Linked DNA regions of Homo sapiens: region 1 is linked to region 2. The links are contacts of gene promoters, found by promoter capture Hi-C in human tissues and cell types (Jung and others, 2019). All regions are on one chromosome and are shown on one strand. The core of a region is centred on a gene start or on the middle of the fragment in contact, and the rest is flanking DNA. Distances in the headings are between cores, read along the strand shown. Region 1 overlaps FAM161B (FAM161 centrosomal protein B). Region 2 holds the start of ACOT6 (acyl-CoA thioesterase 6).

What was found. Contacts are between HindIII fragments. The study calls those that stand out against the background at their distance.
Region 1: a contact is called between a fragment that was not itself captured here and the fragment with the promoter of ACOT6 in region 2, in 2 of the 25 tissues and cell types used here (IMR-90 fibroblasts and spleen).

Annotation. Positions count from the first base shown.
Region 1 is chr14:73,938,633-73,944,809 of GRCh38, forward strand. FAM161B (FAM161 centrosomal protein B) reads right to left here. Exons shown (of 9, transcript NM_152445.3): 3 at 5,703-6,177; 4 at 3,737-4,083; 5 at 2,294-2,421. Among named protein-coding and RNA genes, the nearest start is that of FAM161B, 8.4 kb to the right of the region's middle. The HindIII fragment of the contact is 9,683 bases long and covers 1-6,177 here.
Region 2 is chr14:73,608,917-73,614,763 of GRCh38, forward strand. ACOT6 (acyl-CoA thioesterase 6) reads left to right here and starts at 3,601. Exons shown (of 3, transcript NM_001365788.1): 1 at 3,601-4,116. The coding sequence starts at 3,656. It also overlaps a transcript of HEATR4 not described here. RefSeq lists enhancers at 3,712-3,761, 3,779-4,278, 3,812-3,861 and a silencer at 4,937-5,181. The HindIII fragment of the contact is 22,654 bases long and covers 1-5,847 here.

The DNA of each region.
Region 1 (6,177 bases), core at 2,521-5,020, 330 kb after region 2:
GCGGTGGTGGGCGCCTGTAGTCCCAGCTACTCGGGAGGCTGAGGCAGGAGAATGGCATGAACCTGGGAGGCGGAGCTTGCAGTGAGCCGAGATCGTGCCACTGCACTCCAGCCTGGGCGACAGTGAGAGACTCCGTCTCAAAAAATAATAATAAATAAATAAATAAAATAAAGCAATCTTAGTAACCTTTTCTGGAAAGTAAGTTGGTGTTTTTAATGAATGGGGCATGTAATTTACCTCAACTGCCATTTTTAAAAATAATAAAATTCTAGGATTAAATGCACTGGCAGATGAAGCCTTTCCAGCACTAGGGACACAGTGAGTTCCTACCCTAGAAGTGCATTTACTGAACTGGAGAAACGTCAGTTAAAATATCCTTACTTAGGTCGGGCACGGTGGCTCATGGCTGTAATCTCAGCACTTTGGGAGGCTGAGGCGGGCTGATCACAAGGTCAGGAGTTCGAGACCAGCCTGGTCAACATGGTGAAACCCTGTCTCTACCAAAACTACAAAAAAAATTAGCTGGGTGTAGTGGCACGTGCCGGTAATCCCAGCTACTTGGGAGGCTGAGGCAGGAGAATCACTAAACCCGGGAGGCAGAGGTTGCAGTGAGCTGAGATTGCGCCATTGCACTCCAGCATGGGCGACAGAGCAAGACTCTGTCTCGAAAAAAAATATATATATCCTTACTTAAACAGTCCAACATTCAATAGGTCTTCGCCTATCTGGATACAAAATAATACTAATAGCTACCATTTACTGAGCTCCTTATTATGAACCAAGTACCATTACATTTCACATTGTCCTCATAACTGCCTTATGAGGTAAATACTAAATTCCCTTTTTATAGGGGAGGTGATTGAGGCTCAAAGGAGGTAAGCCCCTTGCTCAAAGCTACCCAGCATGCCAGTGGAAAAGCCCCTATTGGACCAGGACCTCTGACTCCGAAGCCTCTGGCCTTGACCACTCTGCTGGAAACAGTGGGCTGGAAGGTGTCTGGGTTCATGGTCCTTTGGGAATACAAATCTGCACATTCAGAGAGAACTGGAAATGAGCCTCCCTCAGTGCAGACTATTTGGGTTCAACTTGTAGCACTTAGTTTGTTCAGTTATCTACAAAGTAATATGTTGAGTTCTTCCAAAAGGAAAATCAACCAAGACTCTTATATTTGGATGTTTATATTCAAATGGACATACTGGGAAGAAGGACATGAAAATTTAATCTGTTAATATGTCAGATTCCCTGTGGCTGGAAAGCAGATGTGGATGTCCTCTATAGGAAGGCCAGCCTCTTTGTTCAGGAGGCCTGTGTTCTTGGGCCCTCAGGATACTGAGCAATTAATTAGCCCTGATTTAGTAGGTCTAACTGAAGTCTGAAGAAGAAAGGAGTATCCCTTGGACCGTAAATACTCTTCTACAATCCCTGCTGTGGGGCTTAACGATCCAAGTAGGTTCTGAGTACTCCCCTACATGCCCCATGGGAAGGCAGTAAGACATTAGTCCTCTCCCTGGCCTAAGCTGCTGTTACACCATGACCTCTCTTGCCTACTTCAGCTCAGAAGCCTGGTGGAAGAACCCTTGCTGGGGGCTGGCTTAATGAGAACATCATAACAGAATCAGGTCAGTTGAAGAGTTAAAAATAAGCAGGCTCTTGCTGCCCAACAGACTCTGACATCTTCCCAAGATGAATCTCAGAGAATCTCAAATCTATGCAATGGATGTCTCATATTTGCGGCAACTTCAGCCACCTGCTAGCATGCTTCTCTGAATTCTTGTTCCTCACTACTCCCTTCCTCTCACCCATGGGCTTTTATCCATGTTCTCTCTGTCTGGAACCTTCCTTCTCTCCAGGCTTTGTCTGGCGAACTCTTCCTTGTTCTTCAGTTTCACTTTAGACATCTATTCCACAAGACAAGACCCCCCTGCTCCAGGCTGCCCAGTGCCCTCACAGTCCCCTTTACCCCCCATCATTGCACTACTCAAAAAATATGGCCATTGCTTCTTTGCTTTTCTGTATTTCAGACTAGATAATAAACTGGAGGTTCCCTAAGATCTCCAGCCTTAACACTGTGCCTGGCACAGAATAAGCCCACTATGAATATGTGCTGAATGATGGCTAGCTGTTCTCCAAGCACCAGGTGTGGAGAACCGCAATTGTTCCAGTCCTGATCAGAAAATTCCCTTTGACCCCTTGAGGTATCTCTGATAACAGGAAAGGAGGCCCCTTGGCAGGGAGGTTTCCAGCATTTGGGGCCAGAATCAGAGCATGGGTCTCGTGCAGCCTGACCACTCACCTGACTGCAGATTCCCTCTTCCTGGTGGCATCTGTGATGTGCACAGGGAGAGTGTTGGCAGAGAGGGAAGCAAGGCCGCTCAGAGAACGACTCCTTGGCAGGGGTGTAGCTGGTGGCTGTGGGGAATCCTAGAAGAAACAAAGGTTGGTATTGGTGGGACAGCATGTGTGATTAGTTTCTATCTTTTTTTTTTTTTTTTTTTTTTGAGACAGAGTCTCGTCTCGCTCTTTTGCCCAGGCTGGAGTGCAGTGGCGCAATCTCGGCTCACTGCAACCTCCAGCTGCCTGGTTCAAGCAATTCTCCTGCCTCAGCCTCCCACGTAGCTGGGACTATACAGGTTGTGAGCCACCATGCCCAGCTACATTTTTGCAGTTTTAGTACAGACGGGGTTTCACCATGTTGGTCAGGCTGGTCTCGAATTCCTGATCTCAGGTGATCCACCCGTGTCGGCCTCCCAAAGTGCTGGGATTACAGGTGTGAACTACCGCGCCCAGCCATTTTCTATCTTTACTAGGATTCAGCTTCACTGAAGGACTGAAAATGAGAATCTTCATTTTTTTTCCTGGGAATAAGGCAAGGATAAAGAGATCTCAAGTTTCACAACCAAGCCAAGACTTGGATATCAATCCTAAAGTTTTTAGTCAAATGAGAAGAGTTCCTTGGAATTGGTATAGAGACATCAACAACTGATCCCAACTCCTTGCCTCTCAAGCCTGCTTGGACTTATTTCTGTGAAATCCTTCTACAGTAAGGGAGGAAAAGAAGTGTCCCTATGGTTTCTGTTGTGTTCTGTTTTTGAGATGAACTTTCACTCTTGTTGTCCAGGCTGGCCTGCGGTGGCACAATCTCAGCTCACTGCAATCTCCGCCTCCCAGGTTCAAGCAATTCTCCTACCTCAGCCTCTGAAGTAGCTGGGATTACAGGTGCCCGCCACCGCACCCAGCTAATTTTTGTATTTTTAGTAGAGATGGGGTTTTGCCATGTTGGCCGTGCTGGTCTCGAACTCCTGACCTCAGATGATCTGCCCTCCTCGGCCTCTCAAAGTGCTGGGATTAAAGGCGTGAGCCACCACGCCTGGCCTGTTTTTTGTTGTTGTTTTTAGATGGGGTCTCACTCTGTTGCCTAGGCTGGAGTACAGTGGCATCATCTTGGCTCACTGCAGCCAGAAGGTCCTCCCACCTCAGCCTCCTGAATGGCTGGAACTACAGGTACACACCACCACATGTGGCAAATATTTGTATTTTTCTTTTAGAGATGGGGTCTCTGTTGCCCAGGCTGGGCTGTGGTCTGGAGTTTATAGGAAAGTGAATCTGCTTACAACTGAGCTGGTGTTTAAAAAAAAGATAGGAAAACCTTGTTGAGAAGTGCTTTCCAGGAAGACCTGGCCCCACCCTGTATTTCAGGCCGCAGCCCTGACCCTCCCACAGCTGCCTGGGCTCTCACCTGCCTCCTTCCGGTGGTGGCAGCATCACAGGGCCGCTGAGGGTGGCGCAGGTTGGCGGTCCTCAGCAAGAAGGGCTTGTTGCGAGTGGCCTCTTGGGTTTCTCTTCTTTTGGCTGCTCTTCTCTGGAAGGCCTTGTAAAGGCCCTCATAGTCAGGGACCACAGGATTCACCCGAGGCTGGAATCTGAAGTTAGTGTGCAGAAACCCAAGCTTTTCCTGCTGGGTTCGGGTGGCTGTGCGGGGCTGTGGGTTAGCCCGGTTACTAGAGGAGGCGATAGGGGAAGAGGCCATCTGGAGCATGTCCAGGGCTCTCATTTGGATGCGAATTTTCCTGAAGAGCTCAGCTTCTGTGGAGAAAGGATGGTGATGGGTAAGAAAGGACCAAGCAAGAAACCTACAGGGTTGGAGAACTTTCCCTCTTTTACACACTAGCTGTAAGTGTTACTGGAGGCAAGTAGGAACTTTTCAGGAATTCTGACACGTTAACATCCTGTGAGATGCCTGCAGATGGCCTGAATAGGAGTAATTATGCCACAGAAAATAACAAACATTACAAACCAGCTTCCTTTTTTTTTTTTCTGGAGAGCTTGTTAATAAATGTCATCCAGAACACCACTGCCTGTGTCAATCAGGCTGCAGAAGCAGTGACCATCTACACTTACTGAGCACTTTCTATGATTGCTTCTTCAGAGATGAAGCAGAGGAAGTGGGCCAGTAACCTGCTCCTCTCCCAGGTTTCCCCATCTGAGAGAAAGGCCCTACCATCCACCCAGCTGCCCAGGCCCTTTGCCCACATCACTGACTCCTCCGTGTCTCTCATCAGTCACAAGTTCTGTCATTTCCTCCTCTTTAACCTCTCTCCAGTCCATCCTCGTTTTTTCATCCCTGCAACCAGTTGCACAATTTCTCTACTGAATTGTGAAATAGCTTCCTCTTGGCTCAACATCCCTCCAGTCTTGCTGCCCTCTCAGATTATCTATACAGCAATCAGAAGGATCCTTCTGAACTATATTTCTGATCATGGGCCACCCTGCCTCACTCCCTCAGTGGCTTCCCTGTGCCCTTGGGATGAAGTCCAGACTCGCCAACGTGGCTTGCAAAGCTCCTCATGTCTGGCCCATGCCTGCCTCTTCCTTCCCACTCCCTCTTCTCTCAGCCCTCGACCTTTCCATCCCTTGCAGATGCTCTGCTTTCTCTCCCCTCCATGCCACATTCTGCCTGCTCCACTTCTCCTCCCTCTTCGCCCCTCCTTCAGTTCAGCCCCAGGGCCCACTTTCTCAGGGGACCTTCCCTAACTGCTCCCTTGCTTCACCAATCCCCGGGTTAGGTCCCTTTGATATATGCTCCCATGCTTCCCCTTTTAATCCTTGTAAATAACTCGCCACATTTGTATGTATTTGTCTTTATCTGTTTTCCTCACATATCTACAAACTCCATGTCTGTGTGTTCACCATGGCACAGTGCCTGGAGCATGGCACATGCTACCGAAAAGTGAATAAAGCCTGAGCCCCTTATTTGGAGCTATACTTTTGGAAATGTGTAAATAATCATCCCCCAGGTAATTTCGGCGATTGACACTACCTCACCAGGACGAAGGAGCCATGGGGGAGCATCTCAGGGCAGTGTGCTGGTGGTGGCATGAGCCCAAGCTGGTCCTCAGGTGTCTCACTGGTTCTCTATTCCTGCACCTGTGCTGGTGCAGAGGCCCTCATGTGCATTCACTTAGATGTCAACAGGACGAGCCTTGGGGACACTGTGGGACCTCTCACTCCTGGCACCATACAGGTCCTGATTGTATAGACAGACCTAACCCTCCCCAATGGCCTGCACTAAGCGTGCAGCCTCTAGTGGGTCCACCCAAGCAGCAAATCTCCAAGCCAGGCAGATCCCTGGGCCCTGACTAAATCCCTATGGTGGGATTGGTTCCCCGAGGCAGGAGGCAGCAAGGTGGCAAGGATGTCTTTACCCTGGAGTTTATCCCCAAGGGCTGGCTCCAGAATGGACTTGGGAATCCTTCTGGTGGCCTTCTGCTTGGAGATCTTGGCTTCAGCTGTGGCTGCCAAGTCTCTCTGTCGAGCAGCTTCCTTTAGCTGCTCCTCCTTCTCCAGGAAGCTGAAGGGCTTCAAAGAAGAGAGGAGCAGTTCCTTCCTCTTCTGGATCCCTGCCTGCCTTCGGGCCTCGCTGCGCTCCATGATCTCTTGGTAGAGGGGCAGGTAGACATGTGCAGGCACAGGCTGTGCCCGGAACTGCCTGTGGCACTCGGCCTCTTCCTCACCCTGCCTCTGGGCCCGCTGCCTCTCCTGCTCAAAGGAGGCAGGTGAGCCCAGCCACTCGGCCTTCTTCCGGGCCTCGCGCAGCGTCATGCGGAATGGCCGAGGGACAGTAATGGATGATGCCCAGGAGCTGACGCTTCTGTGCTGGGAGGGAGGCCGGGAGCCTGA
Region 2 (5,847 bases), core at 2,351-4,850:
GGGAAAGCCTTTATAAAACCATCAGATCGCATGAGAACTCACTCACTATCACCAGAACAGCATGAGACTAACCACCCCCATGATTCAATTTCCTCCCACCAGGTCCCTCCCAGGACATATGGGGATTATGGGAACTATAATTCAAGATGAGATTTGGGTGGGGACACAGCCAAACCATATCAGGTGTAATGCTAACCCTCTGTGTACAGGTTTTGTGAACGATATTGATTGTATGGGGGAGACTGAGCTCATGTCACTATGCCATCAATGAGAATTGGCTGGTGAATACCAATCCTCCATAGCCATGACTGGGTTGCTGAATAAAATGATGCAGTGTGCATCCAAAAGCTGCCTCTTCCTCTGTGGGTGATCTGGGAGTGAGCCAAACATGGGATGGACAATGTCATACCTGGAAAGCTGGCAGATGATGGGATCCTGGACATTGGGCATGCTGGGGGTGCTCCTGCATATCACCCCTGGGTACAAGAAACATCATTGGGCCAGTAGTCTAAAAGTATGCACCATGCTTATTAGGAACCTGCCAGGTCGTGGCTGATTCTAGGTTTAGGTCCTCTATGAAATTTTTGGTACCATATATAGGAGTCAGTGCTCATGAAAAAAATGATAAGAAAACTGTGCCTGATATTGCTGCTTCCAGTGCCACTGCCTTGGCAGCACAGGGACATCCTTCAACTCCCTTGGGAAGGTTGTTCTATTATTTATTTTATTTTATTTTATTTTTGAGACAGAATCTCGCTCTGTTACCCAGGCTGGAATGCAGTGGTGCGATCTCGGCTCACCACAACCTCTGCCTCCCGGGTTCAAGCAATTCTCCTGCCTCAGCCTCCCGAGTAGCTGGGACTACAGGCACGCACCACCATGCCTGGCTAATTTTTGTATTTTTAGTAGAGACGGGGTTTCACCATGTTGGCCAGACTGGTCTCAAACTCCTGACCTCGTGATCCACCCGCCTCAGCCTCCCAAAGTGCTGAGATTACAGGCATGAGCCACCGCGCCTGGCCAGGTTGTTTTAAACAACAGAATTCCTCTACCCTTTTTTTTTTTAGACTAATTGGGAGGAGTGTGTGCCACTGCCAACACCTCCTGGTGTACCTGGATAAACACCTCAGGCATGGTGGAGACATAGGTAGAGGATCTGGAAGCAGGCCTACTGGTTGCAGTCAGAGTGGCTACCTAAAGAATCTTTCTTGGACCTCAAAACTTCTTGCCTGGATCACTAGGACTTGGGGGTAGGCCACAGCTCCAAGCAAGCCTGATCATCCTGCTTATTATAGTAGTCTCCTGGGCCTAATGCAATATATTCCGGCCATGGCTTAACAATGTTGCACCGAGATTGTTTCAGTCAAGTGTCGCTTTTTTTTTTTTTTCTTTTAGAGGGAGTCTTGCTCTGTCGCTCAGGCTGGAGAGCAGTGGCGAGATCTCGGCTCACTGCAATCACCACCTCCCGGGTTCAAGCAATTCTCCTGCCGCCGCCTTCTGAATAGCTGGGATTACAGGCGCGTGCTGCCACGTTCAGCTAATTTTTGTATTTTTAGTAGAGACAGGGTTTCACCATGTTGGCCAGGCTGGTCTCAAACTCCTGACCCCAAGTCATCCGCCCCCCTCGGCCTCCCAAAGTGCTGGGATTACAGGCATTAGCCACCGTGCCCGACCAAGGTGCCATATTAATATGATCAGACAAACCTCTGCCTCCAGATCCTGGGGGTCTGGAGGGCATATGAAATGTACTAGGTTTACTAAAGGAGGTATCTGGGTTGGGGATGGACTGCAGGGCAGTTCTCTGGTTGGCCTTGGACTGACTCAGTTCTCCCCTCTTTCTCACTAGTAGTTCTCAAGCATAGAACGTGCTGGGAATGTAACATCCTGAGAGAGGGACGGACTGGCTGGAATAGCCCTGGCTCTATTCCAGCCCCTCCCTACAAACAGGATGTCTTTCAATGCTTTAACCCAGCAGTCACATGACCCCAGAGTACAAAACTCAGGGCAGCTGCAGTGCAAGTGGGGCACACACACATGAGATTCCATCACCCAGGCAGCATTCCTGAGCCTTGGGGGACTGGTTTCCAATGATTCTTAGGCTTCTGTCATTCTTTGCTGCCTATCTGTAAGTAATAAATCCAGTTCATGTAAATTGTTGTATTAAATATATGAATGTGTTTTCTCACTGGACTCAGACAAGTTGGTAACCAGCATACAGTGAACTTGCTTCATAGAGTCTAATACCTTTTTGTTCAGTTTATACATGTTTACTGAGCTGGGCATCACTATATGCTCTTCTTCCTTCTCCACCCTGCTATGTTCCCAGCTAGGTTGAGCTGTGTGGTTGGGTTTGGCCAAAGAGAGGCATTAGCAAGATACTGAAAAACAAGAGGAGAGTCAAGGGACTTATAGTCTCCTCCTTCCTGCCACAAACCATAGGTTCCTTCTAAAAAAGGTACAACTCCTATCAGACTGCCCCCTTCCCTTGAACCTTCAGATTCAGGGTTCTACACCGAATCTTGTTTCATTGTTTTTGTTTTTAAATCTTGCCCATGCCTTTGTAGATAGTACCTTTATAAAACTCTCCTCAATTACACAGGCTGAGAGTGCCACTTGCTTACTGCCAGAACTCTGTATGCATACAACCCAAAATGGACTCTGCCAGTGATTAGATTTGTGAGGTAAGAAACAAAACAAAACTTTCACTGGGTACTAACCTACAGGTGTGTCAGTGTAGTGTTTTTACACATTAGCCCATTTAATGGTCACAATAAGCCTTTTCAGATAAGAAAACTGAATTTAGAGGGTTATGTTTCTTGCTAAAGATCACCAGGTATTAATATTAAGGATCAGGGTCAGACCAGAACTCGGCTAGGTCTGCCTCCCTAAACATCTGCTTTGCTCCAGGTACCATTAGCCCTGGAAAAAAGGCTTGGTAAGGGACTGAGGGGTAAAGGACGGATTACGACCATGTTTCTCCAAGGGGTCACCTGAGTACAATCACCTGGGATGCTTTTTCAAAATCTAGATTCTTGGACTGTATCTCTCTCAATCCTTTAGCTCTCAGTGGTTTTTGTGCCTCTATTTCGACACTCACCACATTGGATTGCAGGAATAGTCATTAACTCTTTTTTTTTTTTTTTAGACGGAGTTTTGCCCTTGTTGCCTAGGCTGGAGTACAATGGTGCAATCTTGGCTCAATGCAACCTCTGCCTCCTGGGTTCAAGCAATTCTTCTGCCTCAGCCTCCCAAGTAGCCGGGATTACAGGCATGCGCCACCACACCTGGCTATTTTGTATTTTCAGTAGAGATGAGGTTTCACTCTGTTGGTCAGGCTGGTCTTGAACTCCTAACCTCAGGTGTGATCCACCCACCTCGGCCTCCCAAAGTTCTAGGATCACAGGCGTGATCCACCGCCCCCGGCCGGATTGGTCATTAACTCTTATTTCAGCAGATACTCTTTCATTTGGGACACTGGTGTATTTGCACAAATTCTAGGCGCCCCACGCAGCGGCCTGGAGCCTGTCCCCAAGTCCAACCAATGGGAGTAGTGTTAAGGGCTCCGCCCTCGACTACTTTCCAGCGCTCGGCAAAGCCGCCAGGCCCGCCCACTGACTCCGCGGAGCTGGGTCGCCCCTGTTCTACCCAGATTGGGATGGCAGCGACGCTGATCCTGGAGCCCGCGGGCCGCTGCTGCTGGGACGAGCCGCTGCGCATCGCAGTGCGCGGCCTGGCCCCGGAGCAGCCAGTCACGCTGCGCACGTCCCTGCGCGACGAAGAGGGCGCGCTCTTCCGGGCCCACGCGCGCTACCGTGCCGACGCCCGCGACGAGCTGGACCTGGAGCGCGCGCCCGCGCTGGGAGGCAGCTTCGCGGGGCTCCAGCCCATGGGGCTGCTGTGGGCGTTGGAGCCCGAGAAAGCCTTGGTGCGGCTGGTGAAGCGCGACGTGCGGACGCCCTTCGCCGTGGAGCTGGAAGTGCTGGACGGCCACGACACCGAGCCCGGGCGGCTGCTGTGCCTGGCGCAGAACAAGCGCGACTTTCTCCGGCCGGGGGTGCGGCGCGAGCCGGTGCGCGCGGGCCCGGTGCGCGCCGCGCTCTTCCTGCCGCCGGATGAGTAGTCTGCCCAGAATTTGGTCGAGCTCTGCGACCCCCACCGGCCCCTTTCCTGTCCTGGGAATCGCGTGATTGTGGAACATCCCTGAACTTGTTCCTTCGCTCCAGAGTCTGTCATGGATTCTGAGTCTGGGCGTCCGCTGTTGCCCAGGCTGGAGTGCCGTGGCTGGATCGTAGCTCACACTGCAGCCTCGAACTCCTGGGCTCAAGTCCTCTCGCCTCAGCCTCCTGAGTAGCTACTCCAGTCTTTCCTTTTTAAGTTTCACGTCCCTCCCTGGAGGCACCACCACTTTAGCTATGTGCTGAATAGTGCATTCAACTTATTATATATTTATTGAGAGCCACTATGTGCCAGCCATGTGGTTTTGTTTGAATACGATATGGGCAAAACCTTAAGCTGATGTGCAAGAAGGATTTTTGCCTCCTTTCACATCAAACTTCCAAAGAAGCTAAAATCCACAGTATTGGCAATGCCCTTTAATTGTTTAAAAACACACACAAAACTGCCTGACAGTCCTCTCCCTTCTATCATAAACATGCTGTACGTGGTTCTCAACCTGCAATGATTAGCCGCCCTCCCTGGGGGAAATTTGGCAATATCTGGAGACATTTGTGGTTGTCATATCTGAAGGGAGAGGTGCTATTGGCATCTAGCAGGCAGAGGCCAGAGATGCTGCTAAACATTCCACAATGCACAGGACAACCACCAGAACAAAGAATTATCTTGCTGAAAATGTCTGTACTACTGAGGTTGAGGAACCCTAGTCTAAGTAAACACAGGATGTTTGCTAGGTAAAGGTAGCCCAGAAAGAAGACTCCTGATTAATCCCTTCTAACTAAATTCCTGACTTAAACCTCTACCATATAAAAATGATGAGCCGGGCACAGTGGCTCAGGCCTGTAATCCCAGCACTTTGGGAGGCTGAGGTGGGCAGATCACTTGAGCCCAGGAGTTCAAGACCAGCCTGGGCAACATGGTGAAACTCTGTCTCTACAAAAAAAAAAAAAAAAAAAAAAAAATTAGGCAGGCATGGTGGTGCATGCCTGTAGTCCCAGCTGCTTGGGAGGCTGAGGTGGGAGGATTGTTTGATATCAGGAAGTAGAGGTTGCAGTGAGCTGAGATCACGCCACTGCATTCCAGCCTGGACAACAGAGTGAAACCCTGCCTCAAACAACAACAACAACAACAAATTCTAGAGTTGCAACAGCACATAGAATCCTTAAACCGAATTCTGTGATTATTCTCCAAAACAAGAAAACTTGCTTTATTTTTACAGCTCTTCAGCAATTCTTAGCCTTAACTCGTGGCTGCCCACTGTACTGTGAATTCCTGGGGCTGGAATTGGGTCTTACAGATTTCTAAATATCCATGTTCCTAGAGGCTTTCGCAAGGATATAGTAGGAGCTCAATAAATCATACTGACTGGGCCAGGCGCAGTGGCTCACACCTGTAATCCTAGCACTTTGGGAGGCTGAGGTGGGTGGATCACTTGAGGCCAGGAGTTCAAGACTAGCCTGGCCAACATGGCAAAACCCTACCTCTACTAATTATATAATACAAAAAAATTAGCCAGGCATAGTGGCTCACACATGTAGTCCCAGCTACTAGGGAGGCTGAGGTGGGAGAATCGCTTGAACCCGGGAGGCTGAGGTTGCAGTGAGCCAAGATTGCGCCACTACACTTCAGCCTGGGCGACAGAGCGAGACCCTGTCTCAAAAAAAAAAAAAAAAA